2 separate regions of the Homo sapiens genome follow, and region 2 is linked to region 1. Evidence: promoter capture Hi-C in 16 types of primary human blood cells and fetal thymus (Javierre and others, 2016). All regions are on one chromosome and are shown on one strand. The core of a region is centred on a gene start or on the middle of the fragment in contact, and the rest is flanking DNA. Distances in the headings are between cores, read along the strand shown.

The links. The method cuts DNA at HindIII sites, captures the fragments that hold promoters and counts their contacts. A CHiCAGO score of 5 or more calls a contact.
Region 2: a fragment that was not itself captured here is called in contact with the fragment with the promoter of AFG3L2 in region 1 in 1 of 17 cell types (naive CD8 T cells); the score reaches 6.4 in naive CD8 T cells.

What each region holds. Positions count from the first base shown.
Region 1 is chr18:12,374,224-12,381,161 of GRCh38, reverse strand. AFG3L2 (AFG3 like matrix AAA peptidase subunit 2) reads left to right here and starts at 3,935. Exons shown (of 17, transcript NM_006796.3): 1 at 3,935-4,193. The coding sequence starts at 4,080. RefSeq lists enhancers at 2,637-3,166, 3,167-3,698 and a silencer at 3,471-4,370. The HindIII fragment of the contact is 9,454 bases long and covers 2,491-6,938 here.
Region 2 is chr18:13,741,515-13,748,452 of GRCh38, reverse strand. It overlaps RNMT (RNA guanine-7 methyltransferase), which reads right to left. Exons shown (of 12, transcript NM_003799.3): 7 at 6,762-6,938; 8 at 5,801-5,965; 9 at 2,116-2,233. Among named protein-coding and RNA genes, the nearest start is that of RNMT, 18 kb to the right of the region's middle. The HindIII fragment of the contact is 922 bases long and covers 2,266-3,187 here.

The DNA of each region.
Region 1 (6,938 bases), core at 2,686-5,185:
CCATGCCCGGCTAATTTTGTATTTTTAGTAGAGATGGGGTTTCTCCATGTTGGTCAGGCTGGTCTTGAACTCCCGACCTCAGGTGATCTGCCAGCTTGGCCCCCTGAAGTGCTGGGATTACAGGCGTGCTTCTACTTTCTTATCCCTAAGTACCATCTTACCTGTGGGTTTTTTGGTAAAAATTATTTATCCAGTTGAGTAAGTTCCCCTCTATTCGTTAGTTTACAGAGAGTTTTAATCATGCATGGGTGTTGGAGTTTGTTAAATGCTTTTTTTTGTTGCATCTATTGATCATGCGATTTTTCTTCTTTAGCCTATTGATTTGATGGATTACATTCATTGATTTTCTGATGTGGAACAAGCCTTTCATATCTGGGATAAATCCCACTGGTTGTGGTATATAGCTCTTTTTATACATTGTTTGATTTGATTTGCTAATATTTTGTTGAGAATTGTTGCAACTATATTCATGGAAGATATAGGCTTATAGTGTTTTGTTTTGTAGTTTGTTTTTCAGTAATGTCTTTGTCTGGTTTTAATATTAGGGTAATGGCCTCATAGAAAGAATTGAGAAGTACTTCCCCATGTTAATTTTCTGGAAGAACTTCTTTAGAATTGGTATTATTTCTTCCTTAAATGTTTGGTAGAATTTCTTAGTTAAGCCATCCAGGCCTGGGGTCTCCTTCATGGAAAGGTTTTGTTTTGTTTTTGTTTTTTTGAGATGGAGTTTTGCTCTTGTTGCCCAGGCTGAGTGCAATGGTGCTAACTCCACTCACCGCAACCTCTGCCTCCTGGGTTCAAACGATTCTCCTGCCTCAGCCTCCCAAGTAGCTGGGATTACAGACGTGTGCCACCACGGCTGGCTAATTTTGTATTTTTAGTAGAGACGGGTTTTCTCCATGTTGGTCAGGCTGGTCTTGAACTCCTGACCTCTGGTGATCAGCCTGCCTTGGCCTCCCAAAGCACTGGGATTACAGGCGTGAGCCACCACGCCCAACCCATGGAAACGTTTTTAACTACAAATTCAATTTATTTAATAGATGTAGGACTTTTTGTGTTGTCTTAAAAGTGAGCTTTGGTAACTTGTATTTCACAAGGAATTTGTATAGTTCATTGTTCAAATTCATTGGCGTATATTCTATTTTCATTTTAATATATGTAGAATGTGAAGTCATGTCAACTTTCTCATTCTTGGTATTGGTAATTTGTGTCTTTTTTTTTTTTTTTTGAGATGGAGTCTCGCATTCCAGGCTAGAGTGCAGTGGCGCGATCTTGGCTCACTGCAATCTCTGACTCCCAGGTTCAAGTTATTCTCCTATCTCAGCCTCCCGAATAGCTGGGACTACAGGTGCTTGCCACCATGCCCGGCTAATTTTTGTATTTTTTTTTTTTTTAGTAGAGATGGGGTTTCTTTGTTCCTTTTTTTTTTTTTTTTTGAGATGGAATCTCGCTCTGTCACCCAGGCTGGAGTGCAGTGACACAATCTTGGCTCACTGCAACCTCCGCCTCCTGGGTTCAAGCGATTCTTCTGCTTCTGCCTCAGCCTCCTGAGTACCTGGGACTACAGGCGCACGCCACCACACCCAGCTAATTTTTGTATTTTTAGTAGAGACGGGGTTTCACCATATTGGCCAGGCTGGTATTGAACTCCTGAACTCGTGATCCGCCCACCTCAGCCTCCCAAAGTGCTGGGATTACAGGCGTGAGCCACCTTGCCCGGCCTCTCTCTCTCTTACTTTCTTTCTCTTTCTTTCTCTCTCTCTCTCTCCTTTCTTTCTCTCACTCTCTTTCCTTCCTTGTTTCTTTTTCTTTCTTTTTTTGGCCTGCTTGCTGGTCTCAAACTCCTGACCTCAGGTGATCTGCCTGCCTTGGCCTCCCAAAGTGTTGGGATTACAGGCATGAGCCACCGTGCTGGGCCAATTTGTGTCATTTTCTTTTTTCCTGATTGCTCTGACTATTGATCTTCTCAAAGAACACACTTTGATTTCATTCATTTCTCTATGTCTTTTAGTTTTTAATTTTATTGATTTTTACTTTTATCTTCTTTCTGTTCTTTGGTTTTACTTCATTTTCTGTCTAGTTTTTTCTTTTTTGAAGCCGAGGTCTTTGTTTTGCCCAGGCTTGTCTGGAACTCTTGGGCTCAAGTGATCCTCTCACCTCAGCCTATTTCTGATACTGATTTCTAATTTAATTTCATTGTGGATAGAAAATATGTTTTATATGACTTGACTCCTCTTAATATTTTTATGGCCTACAATATGGTTTATTTTGATAAGTGCTCTGTGAAAACTTGAAAATAATGTGTATTCTGTTGTTATGAGTAGTTTTCTATAAATGTCTATTTGATTTAGTTGGTTGTGTTTAAGTCTTCTATATACTTACTATTTTCCTGTCTAATTGTTCTGTCAATTATCAAAAGAAGGATTTGAAATCTCCAAATATAATTGGAAGTTGTGGTTCTGTCAGTCTTTGCTCCATGTATTTTAAGCTTCTGTTAATGGGAACAAAGATGTTTAGGGTTGTTATGTCCTACTGATGAACTGACCCCTTTATAATAATAATAATAATAATAATAATAATAATAATAATTCTCTTGGCCAGATGTGGGTGGCTCACATCTGTAATCCCAGCACTTTGGGAGGCTGAGTCAGGAGGATTGCTTAAAGCCAGGAGTTTGAGACTAGCCTGGGCAACAAAGTGAGACTTCAACTCTACACAAAATAAAAAAAGTCGAGTGTGGTCGAGCGTGTGTGGTCCCAGCTACTTGGGAGGCTGAGGCAGGAGGATCCCTTGAGCCCAGGAGTTAGAGGCTGCAGTGAGCTACGATTGCACCATGGCATTCCAGCCTAAGTGACAGACTGAGACCCTGTCTCTGGAAAAGAAACCCGATCCTCTTCATCCTTAGTGATATTCTTTTCCCTGCAATTAATTTTCTTTGGAATTTCCTTGCCCTAAAATCTATTTGTCTACTCAGTTTTCTTTTGTGTGAGCATGGTATGATGGTGTATCTGGTATATCTTTTTGTTATTGTTTTACTGCCACTGGGGTAATCACAGGACTCACCTGGTTTTGTCTCCTGTCTCTCAAGGATTACTGTCCTTTGCCTGAGGTCCAGCGTCGCCAGCCTGGGCGACAGAGCGAGAGCCCGTCTCAGAAAAACCCCCAAGTCCCCCACCTCAGTTCAAAGACCTCTCCTTTTTCCTCCGCTGTCACGGTACAGGAAACAATGTGTAGTTTCCACTACCTGGAAGACTCGACTTGCTCTCCGAGAACCAGTTCCCCGACAGGGTTCCTAGAGCGCAGGCTGCACGGCACAGCCCCAACATTCCCTGCTGCTTGTGAATCTTCGCATCGCCCTCCCAGGGGTCAGGAATGTGTGCTTCGGTGTCTCCAGAGCCTAGCACCACCCCATGACTCAGCTGGCGCTCGGAGGGTCCTTCCATCTGCCGCCGCTGGGGCCTTCGCTACTTCCCCCTCGCTCCTACTGGCTGGCCCACCCGGCTGCCCAGGCTCGGAAGCCCAGGATCCCAGTCACGCGTCTCCCCTTAGTCCCCGCCTCCAGCCACGCCCCCCACACCCCTCCGTCGGCCCCGCCTCCAGCTCCTGCTCGCTCTCCTAGTCCTTCCTCGGCCCCACCTCCAGCCACGCCCCCCACGTGCGCCATCAGCCCCGCCCCCAGCTCTCGCTCGCCCTCCCGAGTCCTCCCTCGGCCCGGTCCCCGCCTCTAGCTCCCCCTTGCCCTCCAGGGTCCTTCTCGGCCCCGCCTCCTGCCGCGCCCCCAACGCTGCTCCGTCGGCCCCCGCCTCCGGTCCCGCCCCCATGCTCCTCCCATTTGGTCCTGTCTTCTGCACTGGCGGAGGTCGCGGCGGGCCTCGGAGAGGAGACGCCGACGTCAGCGCGCCGGGGCGGGGCTGGCGGCAGGAGACGCCGCGTTGAGAGCTTGGGCTCCTCCGTGAGCCGCCGGCGCGCTTCGCTGCCTGGCGGCCTTTCCCCGAGCCGAGCCCGCTTCCCGAGGCCGCCAGTCGTCGCCTGCCCGCGCCTGCGCAGCGTCCCGGGCCGAGAGGGCCACGGCGGCGGCCATGGCGCACCGCTGTTTGCGGCTGTGGGGCCGGGGCGGCTGCTGGCCCCGCGGCCTACAGCAGCTCCTCGTGCCTGGCGGCGTGGGCCCGGGCGAGCAGCCCTGCCTCCGGACGGTGAGTCCTACCTGGGCGCCCGGCGCCCTCCACCCTGCCTCGGGCCCACTTCCGGCTCGGGAGAGCGGACGTCAAGGTCACTGGCCCCCGCCCTCCGGCCGCACGCGGGCCGTCCCTGCCGAGGGCCTGGGCGCCCTGCGCTGTCTCTCAGCCGGCCCCGGGAGCGCCGATTCGCGCTCAGCCCTGCCTGTGGGATTCAAGTTTTGAAAACGCGCAGCTTCAGTAGAGCCGGGTTTTCGCGCTTCACCGGGGCGGTTGAAGCCTCGAAGGTCATGTTGGCTTGGTGGCCGTCCTTGTCCCCGCTTTCGTGTCCCCGGAGCACGGAACGAAGGCGTCTGTAATTTTGAGTCAGCAGCACGAGCACGATGTAGTCGCAAGGACGGGTTTTGGAGTCGGGCTGCCTAACCTCTCCGAGTCTCCGTGTTCCCGTCTGTTGAATGGGGCCATTGCGGGCATTCCAGGACTGGCAGTATTAGCTATTATTATTAAGAATGTCACCTTTTCATAGCAGGGACTCTGTGTTCGTTGCATATCAGGGCCTGCTCTCAGCAGGAGGCTCTTTCTCTGTTGGTAGCCATCCCTCTAGATACACACACGGGACCTGATACGTGTTTCTGACATAATGATAGAGTGTTGACAGAACCATGGCCGTGATCAGTCTCAATGAAAGGTTCACGTGTCGAATAGTCGCTCTCACTGTTTAAGTGACACGGTTCCTCAGCCTTGCACTGGTGTACGGGTGGTGGTTGAGGTCCCCGGGTCGGCCACGGGAACCTGGCTTGGCCTCCTGCTATCCCAGCGCCCTTGTAGTCAGCTCAACGTCTTCACTGTAAGGGGAGATAGGCTAGTGCCGGGGCTCACGCCTGCGATCCCAGCACTTAGGGAGGCCGAGGCGGGAGAATCGCTTGACTCCAGGAGTTGGAAACCAGCTTGGGTAGGGTAGCAGACCCTCCGATCTACGATTTTTATTTTTATTTTTATTTTTTAAGAGACGGGGTTTTGCTTCTTCGCCCAGGCCGGAGTGCAGCGGCGCAAACACAGCTCACTGCAGCCCCAAACTCAAGCGATCCTCCCGCCTCAGCCTCCGGAGTATCTGGGACTACAGCACCGTGGTTGATTTTTAAAAAGTTTCTGGAGAGGCCAGGCGCGGTAGCTCACGGCTGTAATCCCAGCAGGCGGGTGGATCACGAGGTCAGAAAATCGAGATCATCCTGGCTAACACGGTGAAACCCCATCTCTACTAAAAATACAAAAAATTAGCCGGGCGTGGTGGCGGGCGCCTGTAGTCCCAGCTGCTCGGGAGACTGAGGCAGGGGAATGGCGTGAACCTGGGCGGTGGAGCTGGCAGTGAGCCAAGAGCGGGCCACTGCACTCTAGCCTGGGCGACAGAGCGAGACTCCGTCCCAAAAGATAGGGTTCACCATCTTGCCCAGTTGCCCAGGCTGGCCTGGAACTCCAGGACCCAGGCGATCCTCCCGCCTCCTCCTCTCAAAGTGTTGGAATTACAGACCTGAGCCACAGCTCCTGGCCTCTACAAATTGTTTTTTTTTTTTTTTTCTTACCTGGGCTCAGTGACTTATGACTATAGTCCCAGCAACTCGGGGGGCCAAGGCGGGTTGCTTGGCGCGGGAGGTTGAGGCTCCAGTGAGTTTTGATTGCATTGCTGTACTCCAGCGTGGGTGACGGACTCTGTCTCCTAAAAAAAAAAAGAGCGGGGGTGGGGAGGGGGAATAATAGTGCCTGCATTCATGATTTTTACTCCTTGAGGCTCCCTTGCCAGTCTTAAATCAATTTCTTCGCCATGGTCACGCCACGCTGCCGTGTGGTAGGTCCTTTTTCGGTTTCCTGTATCCATTTCCCTGTTTTACCAAGCTCTGATCCCTTTTCTTTTCTTTTCTTTTTTTTTTTTTTTTGAGACAGGGTCTCGCTCTGTCGCCCAGACTGGAGTGCAGTGGTGTGATTTTGGGTCACTGCAACCTTCGCCTCCAGGGTTCAAGCAATTCTCCTGCCTCAGCCTCCCGAGTAGCTGGGATTACAGGCGCCCGCCACTACGCCTGGCTAAATTTTGTATTTTTAGTAGAGATGGTGTTTCACCTTGTTGGCCAGGCTGGTCTCAAACTCCTGGCCTCAAGCAATCCATTTGGCCTCCCAAAGTGCTAGTATTACAGACGTGAGCCACCTTGCCCGGCCTGACTGCTTTTCTTTTGCTGCTCATGAATATTGGATTCAGACATACAGTTCCAGGTGGGGATCTGCATTGTGAGTTTGCAGTTTTATGTCAGAAGTGTTACCCAAAGGCTTTCCTTTTGAGTGACACTATTGTCCCTGTATCACTCAGATGCTGATGTATAAGGAAGTCCTCTGTGCTGACAGCTGTAGCTGATTGATTTGCGGAGGGTGTGGGGGTTCGCGGTCCTGATACATACTCTTTGGTACTCTCTGAAGATTTGCCTAGTGACACCTGGGCATTACTGTGCTGTGAGGGAGTCTGATAGGACAGGTTTTCCTTTATGTTCCTGCTACCCTTAAAGATCAGAGACAGAAGTACTGCTTTCACGGTGAGGAAGAGATTCTGATGTGTTGAGAGATGAGTTCTCAGGTGTGATGCCCAGAGGAATAAGACTGATGATAAAGCAACTGAAAAGTGCTCCTGTTGTCAAACATAAAGGCTAATTCTCCAAAATGCGGTGCTCTCAACTTAAATTTTGTGAATTAGTATCTCTTACATTATTCTTTGAATGCTAG
Region 2 (6,938 bases), core at 1,477-3,976, 1.4 Mb before region 1:
CAAACCATCCCCCATTATGCCACCCAAGTAGTGTCCTAACTCTTATCTGGTCATGTCCTTTCCTGCTCCAAGTCCTTTACACGCCCACCAGAGTGACTTGGTCAAGAAGTAGGAAAACCAAAGGATTTTTCAAACTACATGCTATTACTGCTTCTGTCCCCAGACAGCCATGGTAACAGGTCATATCCCCAAGTGCAGTACTGGGAGAGAAGGAAGACTGCTGAAGAACTGTGAAGGCCATTAGCACTACTTCCTCAAACATCTCCTGTGCACTCTGGTTTCTCTGCCTGTCCTCTACCAATCTTCTTCCTTCCCAAAAGGCCCTTTATATACTCACTGCACTTGGAATGCTTCAATACTGCAGTTCCCATCATGGACTGCATTATTCACTGAAATAACATGCCATAAAATTCTTGTTATCCCATACCCTACCATACCTAAGTAGATTTTGACATACATTACACAAGTGAATTCACTACCCATATGCTAAGAGAAAGGCTAAATAATTGACCACTATCATGCAAAGCACCATCAAATAAAGGCAATATGCTAAAGATATGCTGTATATGTGGGACAGGGGGACTTATCCACACATAGTTTTGCTAGTTTTCTCCTCTTCCTTAAGACAAACAAAACAAGCATCCATTCCTAATATAAAGCCAATAAAAACATTCTTAGATCTAAAGTATAGGAAATATAACTAATGAGGAATATGAAATTTTACTGATTATGTCTCTTAAAAGACAATTTAGAATTTATAAAAAGTCCTCCCACTCAACATTGTGGGAGTGGCTGGGTGCAGGTGCAACTTCAACAGGAGACTTCTGTTTGAGTATCATCTACAAAAACTGAAGAAAATCTAAAGGTTAGTATGCCTTGAGCAAGTCATTATCCTCTGAGCCTCAGGCTGCCCACTAAAAAAATGTGAAAACTGGCCAGGTGCAGTGGCTCACACCTGTAATCCCAGTACTTTGGGAGGCCAAGGCGGGAGGATTGCTTGATGAGGCCAGGAGTTTGAGACCAGCCTGCGCAACACAGCAAAACTTCATCAGCACAAAAAGTTTAAAACTGAGACAGGTGTGGTGACACACGCTTGTAGTCAGTTACTCAGGAGGCTCAGGTGGGAGGATCACCTTCCAGAAGGTGAAGGCCTCAGTGAGCTGTGATCACATCACTGCACTCCAGCCTGGGCAACAGAGCGAGATCCTGTCATTAACAACAAAAAAAAAAAAATAGGAAAAAAATTAGTGAAAAGTTACCATTCTGCCTACTTCATGGAGGTAATTATAAGGATAAAGAAGTCAGAGTATGCTTAAAGTACTTAAACTGAATAAACTCTCTAAGGAAGTTTAATGTCCATTTGATGAATATGATTCTACTGATCAATAATAAAAATGCTCACTGAATATTTTAGGTCTGTCCAACCAAACATTGTCTGGTAAGGAGAAAAAGGAAAAACAATCAATGGCTGTGTAATTGAAGCTTATATAGATACCTTCACTGCTGCATTAGGACAGGAGAGGTCTCAGCAACAACACAGTCTAAAAGACTGGAACCCTGCTAAAGAATTACCATGCAATAAAATTATGTATGGTTTGAGCTTGTCTGGACACTGGCCAGGAAGGTTCTAAATTACTGTCGTAACCAAAAGGCACTGTTGTAAAGAACTGGTTCTCAACTTGGGGCAATTTTGTCCACCAGGGGACATTTGGCAATGTCTGGAGAGAGTTTTCTGGTTATCGTAACTGGGGACAAGAGTGTTACTGGAAGGCATCTAGTGCGTAGAAGCCAGGAATGCTACTGAATATCCTACAATGCACAGCATCCCACAGCAAGGCATTATCCAGAACAAAATGTCAACAGTCCTGAGGCTGAGAAATCCTATTTTAAAGCAGTACTATCCTAGAAAACAGAATTTGGTAACACCAGTACTCATTCTTTCATCAAGTATTTACTGAGCACTCACCATGCAGTTTCTGTATCAAGCTCCGTCCTAGGTGCTGAAGAGCGTAATACACATAACTATTTCATGTTCAGATGGCCTTGCAAGGATCTCAAGAACAGCCAAACAAGTTCACCATGACTGAAATTTGTACATCTTTTCTAAATACTCACCTCCAAGGCCTGCATTCGTTTTAAGAGCATTTTATTTTCATTGTTCTTAATCTTTTCTTCGTAGAATTCCAGAAATGTTTTTTTGTAGACTAGTTTCATATTGTACTTCTTTGCCATTCTGTCCAAAAAAGAATACTTAATGAAAAAGCTTCCACATGTTTGTAATTCCTCAACTTACTTTTGTACAGCAATGACATCTTCTGGACTTAACTAAAAAAGCTACCACTCCCTTGATAAATTCACAATACAGTAATACAAAATGAATCAAGAGTAACATATCACACCTAAAAGAAACATGCATTCTAAATCTCAGGGGTTTCAGAGGGCTCTATTAGTATAACATAAAGGTCAGGAAGTAAATGAGAGTCTCCGGAGCTGTGAGATGCGGAAAAAGTGTAGGAAACTCTTTTCTACTGATTCCATTTCACTTTACTTGATCTCTCACAGCTGCACTGCAAACAGCTGCCAACTTCCTTCTTAAAGATTCACTTTCATCTCGACTTCTCTGGCAAGATACACTATTAATTTTTCCCCTACATCATGAACTGCTTCTTTGCAGGTTTTTTTTTTTTCCTTTTCACTTACAGGTTTTTTTTTACCCAACTTCTAAACTTCAAGGTTCTGTAGAGTACAGTCCAGAGCCCTACTCACTTCCACCCCCCAGCTATCGGTAGTTCAGCTGTCTCTCATCACTCATGGATTCTACTGCTTATTAGAAATCTTCACCTGCATGTGTCACTGGCACTCTCTAACGTCCCACATCTAAGGCTGAACATCACTGCTCTTTTACTGCCAATCTTTGCCATTTCAGTAAATCCACCTAGTGATCCATGCCATCTCCCCTTCTCTTTTACCCACTGTGCTCAATACACATCACTAAGTCCTTTCTATTTTACCTAGAAAACATCAATTTCAAATAGGTCCACTTCTTACCTCCTGCATTTGGCACCATCCTGCTGCTTCAGTCACCATCACCACTCAGTGGCACCAGTCCATAAACTCACTTTGCTTGTCCCCTGCTTCCATTCTTACTCTCCCTCAATGAATTTTCCAATCGCAGCCAGATTAAGCTTTCAGAAATGCGGACCTGAGTCATGTCACTACCCCCTTAACACCCTCCACTGGGCTCCAGTGCACTTAGGATACAGAACATGGTCTCGAAGACATTCATCTGTAAAGGAATGCTGCCTCATTTTGGGACAGCCCCCGATATAAATCAGGATGGGCCTTCTTTCAACATCTTGGACTAGCCTAGCTTTCCCACTGCTGGGCCCTCACACACGCTGTCCTCTTGTCAGGAGCATTCTTCCCTCCAGTCCTCAGCTGCCCACCTACTTTTCCATCCTTTAGATCCTGACTCAAACATCGATTCTTTACAGGCACCTTCCTTAAATCTTAATTATATTAGGTCTCTCCGTTAGACTCTCAGGTAGTTTTTTTCCTCACTGCATTTGCCAAGTTTATAATCATGTATCTGTAGACAACAAGAGGGAGCCTGGAGATGACTTCAGGCAGCAGTTAAAGGAAGAGTGGAAGGAAGGGGAGAAACCCTGAAAATTAGGTGGGAAGGCTCGTGTACAGGGTGGCATTTGAGGGGATAGGGTAAGGGCAAACACTGGAGGGCCACTGAGGTTTCTATGTAAGAGGTATACGTAAGGCAGGATTCTGTTACTTCAATTAATCCTCCTTGGAAAGGCAACATGAGCAAAATTAAGTCTTTTATTCCAGGCAGTTCATTTTCTTTTGTAAATCTCTAAAATAAGCCTTTAGAAATGAAACCAAGTTTTTTATTCCAGGCAGTTCATTTTCTTTTGTAAATCTCTAAAATAAGCCTTTAGAAATGAAACCAAGTTTTTTATTCCAGGCAGTTCATTTTCGTTTGTAAATCTCTAAAATAACCCTTTAGAAATGAAACCAAGTTTTACACCTAAAAAAATCATGATTCAAAGAATTGAGGCCCAATTTGAATAAGTTTTGCCACACAAAAAGCTTATTTCTGTTAAATTTCTTAATGAAATGGCAAAAAGGCATCTCAAAACCCCCACACATTTTCAGATTCTATTTCATCCAATACTGTTTCAATAAATAATCTTTTAAAAAATTAGATATTAAACTGATGACTTAGGTTTACCATCATTAGGCAATTTAAGTCAAAAAAAAAAAAAAAAAAAAAAAAAAGAAGACCGCTAGGTCTTGTTTAGCATTTAAAACAAATCTTTTGTTTTATTATCTTTTTGATTATACTAAAATCACCAAACTGTTAACTAAAATCTCAAGCTAACATATTAAACATACTCAATAACATTCCACAATTAAGTTCTTTTTTAAATAAAGTTGAAGAGCAGTAACATTTCCCCAGTTTATTAGTTTTAAAAATTAAAAGGAAAATGTAATTGATATTTTTAAATTTTGTAAATGGTTTATATTTATAAAATTATGCACAGTATTTTCCTCATGTTCAGTCACAATGCTACTTGGCTTTCTTATATTATTGAATAAGCTATTATAGAACTCCTGAAAATACTGTAACCCTAATTTTACAGACTGACTGAGTTACAATTAAAATAAGCACCAAGCAGAAGTAAGCAGACAATATACCTCTTCTTTTTCTCAGTTAATATTCAAAACAAAAGATTTTTGTTTCTAAAAAGTAGAAAATCAAGTTCAATCAATCATGACATGGCCTACATTTAAGCTGACTTTTATACTCTCCCCACCGGGGAAACTCTGGAAACCAAGGTGTATCACAAGGCCTTGAAGCCTTACCTGGTAAGGCCCAGTTACCCCCAGCTTTTCCTGTGTCTACAGTTTGCCAGGACTCCTAGGAATTCAGGCACATGGGAGAATACATTCCTGAATCAGGATTTTATCATCAACATTGCCTGTGAGACATAGGCAATTTCAAAGTTATAGTGAAATGCAAACAACTTTTAATACTCATCTCTGTCAAAAGGAGGATCTTTGATTTATTTATTTATTTATTTATTTATTTATTTATTTATTTATTTTTTTTTTGAGACGGAGTTTCGCTCTGTCGCCCAGGCTGGAGCGCAGTGGCGCGATCTCGACTCACTGCAAGCTCCGCCTCCCGGGTTCATGCCATTCTCCTGCCTCAGCCTCCCGAGTAGCTGGGACTACAGGCGCGCGCCACCATGCCCAGCTAATTTTTGTATTTTTAGTAGAGACGGGGTTTCACCGTGTCAGCCAGGATGGTCTCGATCTCCTGACCTCATGATCCGCCCGTCTCGGCCTCCCAAAGTGCTGGGATTACAGGCGTGAGCCACCGCGCCCGGCCGGATCTTTGATTTATGAAGACTCATTGTTTATCATCAAAGTTACCAGTAGTCACTAAAAAAAAAAAAAAAACTTTTGCTATTTGCAGTGTCAGGCATTTTGTGCCACAAGCTGAAGGCAACTGGTTCCCTTTTTCACCCACAGGATTAAAAAATTCCAGGAATGAGAGAAAACTAAGTTAGGCTATTATGAGACCTATGGCAATAATCCCCTAGATGTGAAGCTAGTCTTGTTTTGTTTTTTTTTTTTAAAAACACAAAAACAAAAAAACAAGATTATACTTTTTCTTTAGCCCTCATTTAAAATAAAGAGTAAAATAAATATTGCTTTTCCCCGCTTTTCTTTCCCTTAAGACAAAAAGAAAAGAGTGAACAGATTAATGACTTCTTACTCATTTAGCAATGGAAAATAGACCAAGAATTCAGGAACATCCACAACACCTTCCAAGTTGAAGTCATATTTGCAGCCAAATAAAGGATAATCTCCTTTCTTCTGAAATTTCACAGTATATATTTCATTTCCAAATGATTCTGTTTCTGAAGCTTCAAGGCGTCTTCTATCAAGGTTATCCCCCAACCAAAATAAAAAGATTAAAATTGTGATTAGTGTAGACTTATTTTGATCAGATTATGCATGTGAAAAACTACATGATGCACACTTGATTAGCCTTTTAATTATATCTGGGCTACCTTTTTTTTTTTTTTTTAAAGTGACAAGGTCTTAATCTGTCATTCAGGCTGGAGTGTGGTGGTGTGATCATAGCTCACTACAGCCACCAACTCCTGGGCTCAAGTGATCCTCCTGCCTCAGCCTCCTGAGCAAGGACTACAGGGGCGTGCCACCATGCTGGCTAATTTGTAAATTTTTTGTAAAGACAAGGTCTCACTATGTTGTCCAGGCTGGTCTCAAACTCCTGGCCTCAAGCAATCCTCCTGCCTTGGCCTCCCAAAGTGCTAGGATTATAGGCATGAGCCACTGCACTCTCCTGATTTGAGCTACTTTTAAGAAGCAATATACTAAAAGATCACCAACAGTCACACCAATAAAATTAAGCTGGAAGTAGGTATCACTCTCATGACAGCTGGTTCATCTCTGTGCCTGTGTATCTGACCTGCAGTTTGTCTATCACTATAACTTCAGTCTCTAACTTACACACAAAGATGAACTGTTAAAAGTTCACCTGTAAATTTGTCTATTGAATTTAAATTTTGAATGTCTACTCAAATATCTTATGAAAGTGTTCAACACTTATAAGATTAAAATAGCGTATTTTAATAAAATCTACCTCTGATAAACATTTGCTACTTAATACTGAATATTTTATAAACCACAATATATTTAGAAGTACTTACATCAATTCAAAGCTATTGGGAGTAGTACCAATAAAATAGCCCCCAGGGCTAAGTCTCTCACACGCATTTCTCAGCATCATGTCAGCCTGCTCATAAGACTCAAATGAGTAATGACAGACAAACTGACAACTGCAGATGTCAAAACACATTTGTGGGTCACGAAATTTGTCAATCAGA